2 separate regions of the Homo sapiens genome follow, and region 2 is linked to region 1. Evidence: promoter capture Hi-C in human tissues and cell types (Jung and others, 2019). All regions are on one chromosome and are shown on one strand. The core of a region is centred on a gene start or on the middle of the fragment in contact, and the rest is flanking DNA. Distances in the headings are between cores, read along the strand shown.

Region 1 (7,943 bases), core at 2,871-5,370:
CAGTGTCCCCAAAAAGGCAGTGGAGGCTGACCTCCCGCAGCCCCTCGGAATCCAGTGTCCCCACAAAGGCGGGGGAGGCTGATGTCCCGCAGGGCATCAAGTTACCCTTGTTTCCAAGTTCTTCAGCACAGATGCTCTGAGGATAGATGCCCTGCTTTGCAGATGAGGAAACTGAGGCTCAGAGAGACCAAGTTCATGATCTGGCAACCAGGAATGGCCAGGGTCCCCTCCCAGCTGGGGTCTGCACTGACTAGGTCCACAGGGCTCCGGAGCCTGAGATGGCTGTGTGGGCCAAGCCCTAGTTGTAATCCCCCCATGCACCCAGCTGTACACCCCACGTGCCAGTAGGACTTACAGAGGGGCAGGCATGAGCTCAGCATGAACAGGGCTGCCCCAGTCAGCAGTCACCCTCACTGATGGCCACCTCGGGCCTGGAGGCAGGGCTGAGCTAGGCCTAGTGGGCTGCAGTGGGGCTGTAGTGGGGCTGCAGTGTGGATCCCTGAGGGTGCTTCCCCCTGAGGATCCAGGACCCTGATGGAGGCTGCCCTGTTGGTGCTCCCCCGAGCCCCCGGAGACCTCTCACTACACCCATGGGGTCTCCAGGGTGACCCTCTGGGCCGGGGGACCTGTGTCTGCAGCTCCACCCCTGCCCAGCCCAAGCACACAGAAGAAACAACATGAACACTCCAGGAAGTTTCAGTGTTTTATTAACAAAATCTTACAAAAAGAGTCTGTCTCTGGGGTAAGGTGCACAGGGCCTGGACCGACATTTAAGGCCTGGTCTGTGTGGGGCAAGGGGCAGGGGTTGGCCACAGCCTCATGAGGTTTCCAGGGTCTTCACAGGCTCCAGGGCTTCCCCAAAGCCTGTGCCAGCCTTGAGGATTGGTTATGGCTTATGTGCAAAAATAAAATCTGTGGGGCTGGCAGGGTGTGGGCTGAAGACTTGTCAGAGTGGTCTGCAGGGCTGGTCCCCCAGTGGACAAGGCAGAACGATGAACCCTGAGCCAGCACCTGCTTAGGCTGCAGACGCTAGTGGCCCACCAGCACCAGGGTTCTGGTGTCGGGGCAGGGCAGAATGCCTGGAAGCGCCCCAGGAGCCATGGCTTCTGGGATGTCCTTCCTGCAGCTGAGCTCAGGGCTGCTGGGCAGGGGTAGGAGCTGTGGCCCCAGCCTTGGGGCTCATGAAAGCCTCTGGCAGAGAGGATGGCCTGGCAGCGGGCGGGGTTTCCCTGCTGGGAGGGAGGCAGGGCCCGACTCCTGCTGCAGTGGCTCTGGGGACGGGCAGCTGGCGGCCAGCGGGGCGGGCTTAGTGGCAGGCCCTGGTCCTCGCGCTGGCGCTCAGGGCTAAGCTGGGGCTCCTGCCCTCTGCTGCAGCCGACTCCTCTCTGTAGCCCCCCTCTGGGCTGTCCTGGGACTTCGCCTCCCACGCAGGCAGCCTGCAAGGTGAGGGGTGGGTGGTGCCCAGCACAGCAGCAAAGACTTTGTGGGAACCTTGAGACCTGAAAGAACAGGAGAGTGGGCAGTGAAGGACCACGCAGGACAGTAGCCAGGGCTCCATGGGGAGGGGCTGGGGCCGGTGGATGGCGCTGGTCTTCCAAGGCAGAGGCCCCCCGACCCCGTCAGAGCCTCCCAGCGAGCCCGAACACTGGGGAGTGGCCTGGGCCGCAGGGTGTCTGGGGTCTGGGGAGGAGCTCATTTGGCCGGGACAGCTGATGGTGGGGTCTGGGTGGAAGGGTGGTGCTCCGTTACCTGTTGTCACTCTCCTGGCTCTGATGGTGCCAGCTGCTGCCTCAGCCGGATTTGAGGACTCAGCCCCTCTGGGACCCTCCGCCTGCCATGGGTGAGTCATGAGCTGAGCTCTGATTCTTCTCCAGGCGGGCGTGAATCACTGGAGCTGGGGGAGAGAAAGCGCGGGTCCATGTGAGAGCTGGCTCAGCAAACTGCCCCTGCCTCCCACCCGGCCCACTCTCCCCAATGCCCCCTTCCATGATGCCAGCCCCACCCCATCCCTTTGGCTAACTTGCTGGGGGCCCAAGCCTCAGTGGGCTCTCCTAGAAAACAGCCTCCGGATCCCGCCAGCTCTCAGATGCCCCACAGCCGGTACTGCCTTGGGGCAGGGGCTCACCTGAGGGGCCAGGAAGCACCGGGACATCAGGTCTGCTCTGCTGCGTGTGCGACTTCTACTCTCCCCTGGGAGGAGGGGGCCGCGCTGCCCGAGGCTGGCCAGCTGCCCTGGGAGGCAGGGAGGGCGTCAGCTGGCTCTGCGGATGCCGGGAGAGGGCGGCGGCGCCGGAAGTCGAGGCTCCCTCAGCATTGGCTCTGCCCTAGCTTCTGCTCTGGGTGTCCCATGAGCTTGGTGGCCGCTGGCCCCTGCCATCCGGACACTTGGTTTTCTGGATGTCCAGAGGGCCTGGGTGTTGTAGCAGAATGAGGAAGCTGGGGTGTTCTGTGATGGCCTGAGAGTGTGGAGGGTGGGGTCCAGGCCGGAAAGACAGACGGAGGGAGGGTGATGGGTGGAGCCCTGCAGGGGGGAGGGCTCTTTGCCGCTGGGTGCGGTGCTCACATCTGGATGACACGAGTGTGTGCGAGTCCGCCCGGAGCTCGAGGGGGCACCCAGCTGGACCAGGGCTTCCCCTGCAGGAGTCAGCCCCAGCTCAAAAGTCCTGGTGGGCAAAGCCACAGGCTGGATGTAGTGGGCAGGCTGGGGGCTCCGGGATGCCCTCTACTCGGGCTGGGTCCGGTCACTGGCCACGGACTCGCTGTTGGGGGCGGGCGTGAGGGTCTCCGCCTCATCCTCCACCGGGAGGTGGGGGCCGGCCGGCTCGGCCGCCTGCTCCAGGTCATCCTGCACCTCCATGCCCCTCTGGATGAGCTGCTCCAGGGTCTTGGGCAGGGGGTGGCGCAGGAAACGCTTGAGCTTGGGCTGCAGGGTGCCCACCACGTACTGGATGATCTCCTCCTCGTCCGCGTCCACGTAGAGCGTCTGGTACAGGTCCCGCTTGCGCCACAGGAACTGGTCCAGCGGCTCGCCCTGCTTCTGCGGCAGGTCCAGCTCGCGCTGGATGGCCTCTCGGGACAGCGTGCCCTCGCTGTACTGCAGGAACTCCTTCTTGAACTCCACCCAGTTCTTCACGGAGCCCTGCTTGAACTCCCACCACTTCTTGGCCGGCCCGTTCATGTGATTCTGGATCTGGGACAGCCAGTACTCCTCAGAGCCGCCCACCTGCCGCAAGTACTCCTCTAGGTGGCTCAGGAACTCTCGAGGGTCCTCGAAGATCTGCGTGTCCACGCCGGGGCTGGGCTGCCCGTCCTCGCCGGGGACCCACGGCTGGTACTGCTGGGCCTCGGCGGGCTCCTGCCCGGGCAGCTCGCCAGCGGCTGGGGGCGGGGTGATGGCGTAGGGGCTGACGGTGTAGTCGTAGCCGTCTGCCTCGTGGCAGTAGCTCTCGGGACCCCCCACGCCCACGGAAACGGTGTGGCGGGCTGACTCGCTGCCCACCGGGTACTTGCCGCCCGTGGACTCCAGGCGGTCGGCCCAGCGCTCCAGGCGGTAGAACACCTCGCGCCACACGTGCATCTCGCGCTTGACCCAGCGCTCCAGGTTGGCGATGGTCTCCTGGCAGCGGCACAGGCAGGCCTTGATGGACTTCTTCCAGCGCTGCGAGTCGCTCGTGGGCACGTAGCCGTCCAGGTTGCTCTCCAGCTTCCCGACCGACCGGTGCAGCCCCTTCAGCTCGCGCTCCACCTGCTTGGACACCTCGGCCAGCAGGTGCCGGTGCGTCCGCCGCACGTGCTCCAGCATCTCGGCCCGGCACTTCCCGATCTGCAGGATCACGTTGGGCTTGGCCACCTGCCCGCCCCGCGGCCCGGGGTAGGCGTGGAGCCCGCCGCTGGTCCGGTGGTCCAGCTCCATCTGTGCGCAGGTGCTCCGGCAGGCGGCAAACTCCTCGGGGCGGACAGAGGGTGGTCCGGCGCTGGGGTCCGGCGGCCTGGGTCCCGTGCGGAGCTGCGGGGAGCGCCTGTCTGTCGCTGCGGGCCGGCGGCGGGGCCGGCGGAGCACGCCCGGGGAGGCAGGTCCGGCTCGGCTGCTGCGGAGGGAGGACGCCGCGCCCGAGCTCTGCGCTGAGTCCTGGCCGCCGGCTCTTTATGCAGCCAGCGAGGCCCGTGGGCGGCCGGCTCGCCGAGCCCGGTTTCTCATTGGCCCAGCCGCAGGCTCCCCGCCAGCGCCCCGCCCGCGCCCCTGCAGGCCCCGCCCTGCGCCCACTCGGCTCCCGGGCGGCAAGGGACGGGAGGTCCCACCCCCTGCACACATGGCGGGGCCAGGATGACTAATCCCTCCGCTCCGTACCTCCCACCCCGGACGGCGGGGCTCATTCAGCCTGCGGGGACCGAGGGACTGAGCCGGGCACTGGGCGCCCCTCCCACGCCCCCTCCCGGGCGCTGGGCGGGCTGTCATCTGCTGCCTCCCAGGGTCCCAAGGTGGCCTTCCTCCTCTCCACTCGCCTCTCTCTTTGCGGGGCTGGAGGGGGCTGGCGCTGGCCACTGCTCTCCTGGGTCCTCACTGCCCCTGACCCCGCCCACCCAGCTCTGCAGGATGTGCAGCTGAGCCCGGGAAGGACCCTCACCATCAGCCTCTGTGCCCAGGGGCTCAGCAAGTCTCCATGTGAGCTCCCAGATGTGGCTTTGAGCTCCCACTCACTCCTGCCCGGGTCCTGAGTCCAGGTCTTGGGCTCTGTGTGAGGGACGCACAGCCAGGCAGAGGCTCGCTCTGCCTGGCCCTGGCGTTGGTGTGCATGGGTGACAGGGGCCCACGTGGCAGTGACTGGACAGGGCTGCCCCATGCCCCCATACGCAGGTCTCTGGTGAGGCCCAATACTTTTCTGTGTTTCCAGGGAAATCTGGCAGCTGCTACCTGGGGGGCTGGGGTTTGGAGGACATGGAGGGGACATTTAGCCCCCAGTGAAGGGAATTGGGCCCTGAAGACCCTGGCTATATCAAGAACCTGGCCAGAGGCTCCAAGACTTCTAAGGGGATGGAAGAGGGGAGGAGAGAGGGAGACAGGGAGGGAGGTGGAAGGAGGGAAAGGAGAAGGGGAGGGAGGAGAGGCGAGGAGGGAGAGGGAGGGGGGCCGGTGCTGGCAGCACAGTGCCATCAGGAGAGGCAGAGGGAAGCCAAGCACCATATAAGGAGCGGGGCTCCGGAAGCCGAGACTCCCTCGGGAGGGAGGTCCCTTCTGCCTCCCTGGCAACCTGGCGGGGGTAGGGACGCCCTTCCTGAGTTACTCCAGTGCTGGCTGGATAGGCATGGGTCTCAGGTCCTCTGATGTTACCCAGGCAGGGGTGACACACACCATTCCCCACAGCCAGAGGGCCATGAGGACATCATCGCTGACAATCAAGACATCTTGTTCCTGCTGCCAGCTGCCCTTTCCCTCTCTCAGACACACACATGCTGCACACTCACACCCCCACATACACACTCATAGCCCCCACTCTAACCCCACCCCACACACTCATGCCCTCACTCACAGCCCCCACACACACTCATACCCCCCACTCATAGCTCCCACATACACACTCATACCCCCCACTCATAGCTCCCACATACACACTCATACCCCCCACTCACAGCCCTCAGCTCCCCCCAGCATCCCCTGTCTTATTCAGGCACTCAAGGGCACACAGGTGCCCACTTGCTGGAATCCCCCCTCCCTGCCAACCCTCTGAGCCCCCCCCCAACCGGCTCTCCCGGGGAGCCCTCTCCCAGCCTCAGAGCCAGTCTGTCTCCTCCTTCCTTCCGCCCCTGGGGGGGAATGTCTTTCTGGCAAAAAAACTCCCCAAAAATGGCTCTCCTGGCATTTCTAATTAAAGGTAAGTGGGCGGACAGAGAAGGGAGGGCGGAGGGGCACCGCGGAGCTGGGAGGGGGAGCCAGGCAGAGAAGTCTCCAGCACAGGGACCTTCCCGCTTCTCCACTGCGGAATCCCAGGGAGAGGAGCTGGGTGGGCACATGCGGGACGGGCAGACGCCAGCAGCCTTGGGTGAGTGCAGCCAGCGGTCACCGAGGGCCACATGTCCGGGTTGGGGCCAGCCTGAGCCTGTAGGTGTTGTCTGGGTGCTGGGCACTGACCGTGCATGTGTGTCCATTGTGAGAGCCAGCACTTCAATGACCAGGGGCCAGCCCCGCCAGGGTTTACAAGCCCGTGTGGCCTCTGACGTCCCCGCCAGGGCACAGCTCTTAGGCCTCTGGCCAGCAGTGGCCTCCAGCTGCCACCCCCACCCAAGGCATCAGCAAGCTGACAAGGAGGCAGGACTGGGGACACGTGAGCCAAGGTCATAGGTGGTGCCGCTGCCTCAGTTCCCTCACCTGTGTGGAGGGAGCCAGGCCTGGAGAAGGGTGAGTGCCCAAGGTGGCCCGGTGAGCAAGGCAGGGCTGGGCAGGAGCCAGGCCCTTGGTGAGGAATCCTGGCGTCCTCTGCTCAATGCCCCGTGGCCCATCACCACCCCTGTCACCTGCTAAACAGCAAGCCAGAAGTGGCCAAGCCGAGACCGGTGGGAGAGCACAGTGCCTGCCCTGGATGGCACGAGGGCAGGCAGCGTCGGGGGTGCCACGCGGAGCCCCGTCTTCCCCTCCCCAACCCCCTCCAGCAGGGTCTGCAGAGGCTGTGAATGCAGGCCTGAGCTGACCGGTGACAGGCAACAGCCGCAGCTGCCAGGAACGCTTAATCGCTGCCCAATTATCGCCCCAGAAGCCCTCACCAAACCCCCGCACTGCAGCCTCGGGAAAGGAGGCCAGGCTGACTCCCATCCACCTGGGGCGGGGGCCTCTCCTGACAGGGGCCTGCCCTGCTCCTCTCTCCAGCCCACCCCCACCCCGTGCCCGTCCCTGACAGCCACTGGAGCAGCATGGCTTGGGGATGCAGGTGGGGGAAGGAACAGGGGAAGGGGGTGGGGGCTAGACCTGCACAAGGAGATTGGGAGCACCTGGGGGATCCCCACTCTCAAAGCCAACCTGGTCTGCTGCTGCGCAGGTCTGACCACTCTGAGGCCCCACCTGCCTGAGAGGAGGGGTCCTGCAGGGGAGGGTGGGGTAGCCCATGACCCCCAGGTTCTGTTCACGGTTGAGATCTCCACCAGGCTCACGACAGCCTCGAAGGACCTCTTAGTGCTGGTTCCTGAGCCCCCACCACCTAGGTTCCCAGAGGCGTGCGGGTACCTGCTCTGAAAGGCAGGGGCCACCCTGTGCCTTGGGCCTCCCTTCTCCTTCTGGGGTGCCCAGCCGCCTCTGCTCCTGCCTGATCAGAGCAAAGGGAGTCAGCTCTCTCCCCGCAGCCCCAGACTGTCTCAGCCCTGGCTGACCCACTCCGGCAGGGCCTTTCTGGGTTGCCAGGAGCGTTCACAGGGCAGCTGCTGACCTGGGGCATCCTGCTGCTCCCCCAGGCTGGCCCTGCTGATCTCGGGTGCCGGCAGTTAGCGCTGCTCAGCAGGGAGAGGCAACCACAGGCCCCTTCAGGCCAGAGCTCACACCCACCCCCACTCACACACATGCGCAAACACATGGGCACACGCAGAGGCACACACCTCCCCCATCTCCCCTGCCTCCAGGCTCTGTCCTCTTTGGAAACAACCCAGAGGGCCCCCAACTCTGCCTTGGCCCCCCACATCACTGTCTTCATAAAGGCCCTTCCTCACCTGCCCACTGCTGGCCACACACACCTGCCCACCCCACCCTTTGCACACATTCCGGGGCTCCTGCTGCCCTTCTGTGTGGGCTGCGTGGAGTGAGGAGCCGGCAGCAGAGAAGGAATGAGGCAGTCCCAGGGGTTGGTTCGGGCACCCGCCCCCCACATGTGACCACTCCCCAGCCTTGTGGCCTCATCTGTCACCATCTACTGCCCGGTGGGGCTGGAAGAGAAGAACCAGGCTGCCCTATGCCCTCAGGGTGC
Region 2 (7,943 bases), core at 2,935-5,434, 54 kb before region 1:
TCTTTCTTTATTTTAGAGGCAGGATGTCACTCTGTCACCCAGGCTGAGCTCAGTGGCACAATCATATCTCACTGCAGCCTCAAACTCCTGGGCTCAAGTGATCCTCCTGCCCCTGCCTCCTGAGTAGCTGGGACTACAGGCGGGCACCACCACACCTGGATAATTTATTTGTTTGTTTATTTGTTAGCAGAGATGGGGTCTCACTATGTTGTCCAGGCTGGTCTTGAGCTCCTGGGTTCAAGTGATCCTCCTGCCTTGGCCTCCCAACGTGCTGGGATTACAGGCGTGAGCCACCATGCCTGACCTAAAGTATTGATTTTTAATGCAGTTTTACCTCTTATTCATATGGAAATCTTACAGATTCTTTCTATTCCTTTTCAGCTTACCTTTGAAATTATAACCATTATTTAACTGGTTCTAAAATGCATCAGTCTATGAACTCTCTTTCAAACGGTACAAGGACCTCAGAAGACTTTACTCATTCTCGTTGGGCTTCCATGGTAGCTTTGTCTATCATTTGAGCTCTGTATGTACAACGCTATGAATGAGACAGGATTATCCTCATCAGTAGACAGCCCTGGTTATATGGACTTATATGTTTAGCCATTCCTTTGTCACCATTCCTTCTAAGATGTCATGCTCTCCTTCTTCCCGGAGCACAGGCTTTCCAAGTCCTGCTGGCAAACACCTGTTGACTGTAACTCTGTTGTCCGTGTGGAGAAGGCCAAATTAATCCCACTCATTGCCTGGCATCATGCTGGCCCATGGGAAGCCCCGTTCTTGCTTATTTATGCTCTTGAATCTCCATAATCCGCCCCCCAACCGATAAGCAGCTACTCTAATTTAGTTAATATGTCTTTTTTTTTTTCAAGTGTTCTTTTTATTTGATAATAATTTTAGGCAACAGAAAGTTGCAAAGATTGTATAGAAAGCACTGCTCTACCACCTACAAGTTTCCCCCGTCATTAACATCTTATATAACCATGGCACAATTATCAAAGTGTCTATTTATTTAAACTATATTGTTATAGATCTCAATCTGTTTTTAACTTTTTTCCATAAGCACTTTTTTTAAAAAGATCCATCTGGGTTGCTATGTGTGCATCTTGTCTGTTCTTTTTCATTTTTTTCTTGACGTGGTTTATTTTAATATAAAATACAGCCAAACATATACCACAGATGAGACGGAGCCATATGTAATGACATTCTCTGTGCATGGCGAGTAATATCGGTGTGCGCACTTGAATTTTGCATTTTTGGTTTAACTTGGAGGTACAACTTAAATATACTAAGATTCGTCCATTTTAAGTGTTGGATGGGTTAGGCCGTATGTAAACACTCAGCCACTGCCACGAACAGACGGTGCACAACTCTGTCAGACCCATGCAACTGTCACCATGAGTGGGACAGTGCCACCAGCCCCCAGCATCCCCTCAGGAGGTCCCTTTCTAGTAAAATCCTTTCCCCATCCTCCCCCCGGGGCAGCCACTGCTCTATGCTTCGTCCCTGTACAATCGTATGTCGCTTCACGACGAGGATGCATTCTGAGAAATGTGTCCTTATGTGATGTCCTCCTCGCGTGAACATCACAGAGTCTACTCACACAGGTCTAGAAGGCAGAGCCGATGCGCCCAGCCTGTATGGTACAGCCTGTTGCCCCTGGGCTACAAACCTGGTCAGCCTGTGACTGTACTGAATACTGTGGGCAACTGTAACACAATGGCAGGAAACTGTGTGTCCAAACGGGGTGCAGTAGTTGCACCTATAGTCTCAGCTACTTGGGAGGATCCCTGGAGCTTAGGAGTTCAAGACCAGCTTGGGCAACATAGTGAGACCCAATCTCAAAAAAAAAAAAAAAACCCCACAGAATTTGTGTAGCTAAACATAGAAAAGGTACAGTAAAAATACAGTATAAAAGATTAGAAATGGCCCATCTGTATAGGGCACTTAGCATGCATGGAGCTGGCAGGACGAGCAGTTACTCTGGGTGAGCCAGTGCCTGAGTGGCGAGTGAATGGGACGCCCTCGGATGTCCCTGTGCACTGCTGGAGACTTTATAAACACTGTACGTGTAGGCTTCACCAAATCTGTTTAAAAATATTTTCATTCTTTGATATCTTACTGTAATGTTTTTACTTTATGAACCTTTTAATTTTCATAACTTTTTGACTCTCTTGTAATAACATTTACCTTAAAACACAAACAAGTACAGCTGTACAAAAATATTTTCCTTTATTATATCCCTATCCTATAAGCTTCATTCTATTTTAAAATTTATTTATTTTTTTTTACTTTTTAAACTTTTTTCTTAAAAGCTAACATATATATACACACACACACACACACACAGTAGCCTAGGCCTGCACAGGGTCACAATCACCCACCTCACTGTCTTCCGCCTTCACGTCTTGTCCCATTAGAAGGTCCTCAGGGGCGGTGGCATGTATGGAGCTGTCCCCTCCTAGGGCAGCAATACCTTCTTCTGGACCCCTCCTGAAAGCCCTGCCTGGGGCTGTTTTGCAGTTCACCTTTTTCTATATAAGTAGAAAGGGTATACTCTAAAATAACAAAAGTATTGTACAGTAAACACATAAGCCAGTAACAGAGTCATTTATTATTAAGTATTATGTAATGTGCATAACTATATGAGCTTGATTTTATAGACTGGCAGTGCAGTAGGGTTGCTTACGCCAGTGTCACCACACATGGGAGAAATGGCCGCTAGGATGTCACTAGATGACAGACACTTTCATCTCCATTGCAATCTTACAAGGCCACCATTGTACATGGGGTCCATCACTGGCTAACAGGCGGGGACGCAGCACATGGTCCATCACCGTCTAACAGGAGGGGATGCAGCACATGGTCCATCACCATCTAACAGGCGGGGACGCAGCACATGGTCCATCACTAACAGGAGGGGATGCAGCACATGGTCCATCACTGGCTAACAGGCGGGGATGCAGCACATGGTCCATTACTGGCTAACAGGCGGGGATGCAGCTCATGGTCCATCACTAACAGGCGGGGATGCAGCACATGGTCCATCACTGGCTAACAGGAGGGGACGCAGCACATGGTCCATCACTGGCTAACAGGCGGGGATGCAGCACATGGTCCATTACTGGCTAACAGGCGGGGATGCAGCTCATGGTCCATCACTAACAGGAGGGGACGCAGCACATGGTCCATCATTGGCTAACAGGAGGGTATGCAGCACATGGTCCATCACTGGCTAACAGGCGGGGATGCAGCACATGGTCCATCACTGGCTAACAGGCGGGGATGCAGCACATGGTCCATCACTGGCTAACAGGCGGGGATGCAGCACATGGTCCATCACTGGCTAACAGGCGGGGATGCAGCACATGGTCCATCACTGGCTAACAGGCGAGGATGCAGCTCATGGTCCATCACTGGCTAACAGGCGGGAATGCAGCACATGGTCCATTACTGGCTAACAGGTGGGGATGCAGCTCATGGTCCATCACTAACAGGCGGGGATGCAGCACATGGTCCATCACTGGCTAACAGGCGGGGATGCAGCACATGGTCCATCACTAACAGGAGGGGATGCAGCACATGGTCCATCACTGGCTAACAGGAGGGGATGCAGCACATGGTCCATCACCGGTTAATAGGCGGGGATGCAGCACATGGTCCATCACTGGCTAACAGGAGGGGATGCAGCACATGGTCCATCACCGGTTAACAGGAGGGGATGCAGCACATGGTCCATCACTGGCTAACAGGAGGGGACGCAGCACATGGTCCATCACTGGCTAACAGGAGGGGATGCAGCACATGGTCCATTACTGGCTAACAGGAGGGGATGCAGCACATGGTCCATCACCGGTTAATAGGCAGGGATGCAGCACATGGTCCATCACCGGTTAATAGGCGGGGATGCAGCACATGGTCCATCACTGGCTAACAGGCGGGGATGCAGCACATGGTCCATCACTGGCAAACAGGCGAGGATACAGCACATGGTCCATCACCAGCTAACAGGAAGGGACGCAGCACATGGTCCATCACTGTCTAACAGGAGCGGATGCAGCACATGGTCCATCACTGGCTAACAGGCGGGGATGCAGCACATGGTCCATCACCAGTTAACAGGCGGGGATGCAGCACATGGTCCATCACCGGTTAATAGGCGGGGATGCAGCACATGGTCCATCACTGGCTAACAGGCGGGGATGCAGCACATGGTCCATCACTGGCAAACAGGCGAGGATACAGCACATGGTCCATCACCAGCTAACAGGAGGGGACGCAGCACATGGTCCATCACCGTCTAACAGGAGTGGATGCAGCACATGGTCCATCACTGGCTAATAGATGGGGATGCAGCAAATGACTGCACCGCACTTTTCCTGTTTCCAGAATGCCATGTCCATGGAATCACGCAGGGTGCAGCCCCTTGGGATGGCCCCCACCCCTCAGCATTCACGCTGCTCAGATCCATCCCGGTGCTGTGCACCCATCCTTCCTTTTTCTGAGCCGGGGTCTCACTCTGTTGCCCAGGCTGGAGTGCAGTGGCGCAACCACAGACCACTGCAGCCTCACTCTCCCAGGCTCAAGTGATCCTCCCACTGCAGCCTCCCTAGTATCTGGGACTATAGACACACACCACCCTGCCCAACTAATTTTTTAAGGTTTTTGTAGAGACAAGTTCTCATTATATTGCCCAAGCTCATCTCAAACTCCTGGGCCCAAGCAATCCTCCCACCTCAGCCTCCTAAAGTGTGGGATCATAGGGATGAGCCACTGTGCCTGGCCTGTTTTATTTTGTTTTGAGATGGGGTCTTGCTATGTTGCCTAGGCTGGTCTCAAATCCCTGGGCTCAAGCGGTCCTCCTGCCTTGGCCTCCCAAAGTGCTGGGATTCCGGGCATGAGCCACCATGGCCAGCCCATCTCTTTCCAATTCTTGAGTAGAATTCCATTGTATGGGTGTACTATAGTTTATCTATTCACTCACAGAAGGACATTTGAGTTATATCCAGTTTTTGACAACTATGAAAAAAGCTGATATAAACATTCATGCTTGAGTTTGTGTAGAAACATCTTCATGTCTCTAGGGCAAATGCCTAGGAGTGGAACTGCTAGGGCATAAGGTGAGTGTATCTTTAACTTTGTAAGAAAATGACAAACAATTTTCCAGAGCAGCTGCTCTGTTTTGCATTCTCACCAACAATGGTTCGAGAATTCCTTGCTGGCTATTGTCATGGCTGTTCTTCTAATTCTTTCAAGAATATCTTTTGCAGAACAAAGTTGTCTTCCCATTGATTGAGCTTTTGGTGTCATATGTAAGACCTCTTGCCAGGTCACAGGGATTTTTCTCTGATATTAAAAGTGTGATAGGTTTGCATTTTATGTTTAGATAAAGTCTGAGCTAGCTTTTATATAAGGTGTAAGAATTACATCCAAGTCCTCCTTCATCTGAGGATGCCTTTATTCCAGCTAAATTCCCAAAGAATGTTTTCACTAGATATAGAATTCATATTGACCATTCCTTTTTCTTCAGCATTTAAAAAATTTTGCTCCATTGCTCCCCGACTTCCATGGTTTCTGGTGAGAAATCCATTGTCTTTCAAATCCTTGCTCTTCCATATGTCTACAGCATTTTTGTTCTGGCTGGCCTCAGATGTTCTTGTCTTTCAGCAGCTTGATTAGGATGTTTCTTCATCAACATGGATTTCTCTTTGTTTATCCTGTTTTGTGTTCATATCTGAATCTGTAAGTTTCTGTCTTTGCCAAGATTCAAGCAATTTGAGCTGTTATTTATTGAATCTTCCTATACCATCCACTGTCTCCTCTTCTTCTGGAAGTCTGATAATCTGACTGTTGGTGTCGTGGGCCCTAAGGTTCCCTTCATTTTTGGTCCATCACTTTTCTCTCTGTTGTTCAGATTGGATAATTTCTATTGATCTTCAAGGTCACTCTTCTCCTCTTATCTCCATTGTACGCTATTGAGACGATCCAGGGAATTTTTCTTATTTCAGTTATTGTACTTTTCAATTCTAAAATTTCCATGTGGTCCTTCTTGCATTTTTACTTTTCATTTTTTAAATTTTATTTTTATCATGTTTCATACACACACCTTCACCCTGCCCCCAGAGTCTCCTCTATTATTAACATCTTGCATTAGTCCCCAGTGTCACCCAAGGACCCCTGCACTAGGACCTGGGCTACTGCCCCCAAGCTCTTCAATGAAGAGGCAGACACTGACTACCCCAAGGGAATGTGTGTGTGGCAGGGGTAGGTGCAGCATGAACAGAACTTAGGAAGCTGGCCTCAAGCTGCCTTCTCATTGCCATCTCTAGCAGTCTGCCCACCTCCCAGGCTTTTGGCCCAGGAGACAGGATCAGCCACAGTTGTGAAACCTCGTTCCACCCTCTTCTGGCTTCCATGGTTGCTATTCTTGATTCCACTGCTGGTTTGTTATTGCTAGGGGGTTTGTGTCTGTCTCAGCCTGCAGAAAAAGATGTTTTCTTCAGGGGTGATAACCATGGTCAAGCCCCACAGGAGGGTTTAGGGTTTCAGTTTCCACCGCCAGCATTTAGTGGGGACCCCAGAGCTGGGGAGTTAATGCAGAAATTCATTCCGTATCAGCAGCAAACACAAAGACCCTGGCACACATAGCCTTGAGCCCAATGCCAGGGCTTCACGAAGAAGCCCACGATATGCAAGAGAAGCCCATGATATGCAGGAGAAGCCCACGACACGCAGGAGAAGCCGATGACACACAGGAGAAGCCCACGATATGCAGGAGAAGCCCACGACATGCAGAAGCCCACCACACACAGGAGAAGCCCACAATACGCAGGAGAAGCCCACCACACACAGGAGAAGCCCACGACATGCAGGAGAAGCCGACAACATGCAGGAGAAGCCCATGATATGCAGGAGAAGCCCACGATATGCAGAAGCCCACCACACACACAGGAGAAGCCCACGATACGCAGGAGAAGCCGACGACATGCAGGAGAGGCCCATGATATGCAGGAGAGGCCCACGATATGCAGGAGAAGCCGACGACACACAGGAGAAGCCAACGACACACAGGAGAAACCAACGACACGCAGGAGAAGCCCATGATATGCAGGAGAAGCCCACGATATGCAGAAGCCCACCACACACACAGGAGAAGCCCATGATACGCAGGAGAAGCCGACGACATGCAGGAGAGGCCCATGATATGCAGGAGAAGCCCACGATACGCAGGAGAAGCCCATGATGCGCAGGAGAAGCCCACAACACGCAGGAGAAGCTGATGACATGCAGGAGAGGCCCACGATATGCAGGAGAAGCCCATGATATGCAGGAGAGGCCCAAGATATGCAGGAGAAGCCGACGACATGCAGGAGAAGCCCAAGATACGCAGGAGAAGCCCACGACACGCAGGAGAAGCCCATGATACACAGGAGAAGCCGACGACACGCAGGAGAAGCCGACGACACGCAGGAGAAACCCACGACACGCAGGAGAAGCCAACGACACGCAGGAGAAGCCCATGATATGCAGGAGAAGCCGACGACACGCAGGAGAAGCCCACGACATGCAGGAGAGGCCCATGATATGCAGGAGAAGCCCACGACATGCAGGAGAAGCTGACGACATGCAGGAGAAGCCCACGACAGGCAGGAGAGGCCCACGATATGCAGGAGAAGCCGATGACATGCAGGAGAAGCCCACGATATGCAGGAGAAGCCCATGATACGCAGGAGAAGCCCACAATACACAGGAGAAGCCAATGACATGCAGGAGAAGCCGACGACACGCAGGAGAAACCGACGACATGCAGGAGAAGCCCACGATATGCAGGAGAAGCCGACGACACGCAGGAGAGGCCCATGACACGCAGGAGAAGCCCACGACATGCAGGAGAAGCCCACGATACGCAGGAGAAGCCCATGATACACAGGAGAAGCCCACGA

The links. Contacts are between HindIII fragments. The study calls those that stand out against the background at their distance.
Region 2: a fragment that was not itself captured here is called in contact with the fragment with the promoter of ARC in region 1 in 1 of the 25 tissues and cell types used here (dorsolateral prefrontal cortex).

Annotation. Positions count from the first base shown.
Region 1 is chr8:142,610,359-142,618,301 of GRCh38, forward strand. It overlaps ARC (activity regulated cytoskeleton associated protein), which reads right to left and starts at 4,121. Exons shown (of 3, transcript NM_015193.5): 1 at 2,126-4,121; 2 at 1,750-1,894; 3 at 691-1,499. The coding sequence starts at 3,913. The coding sequence ends at 2,723. RefSeq lists an enhancer at 3,314-4,212 and a silencer at 4,228-4,437. The HindIII fragment of the contact is 38,144 bases long and covers 1-7,943 here.
Region 2 is chr8:142,556,355-142,564,297 of GRCh38, forward strand. No RefSeq gene overlaps it. Among named protein-coding and RNA genes, the nearest start is that of ARC, 54 kb to the right of the region's middle. The HindIII fragment of the contact is 7,337 bases long and covers 517-7,853 here.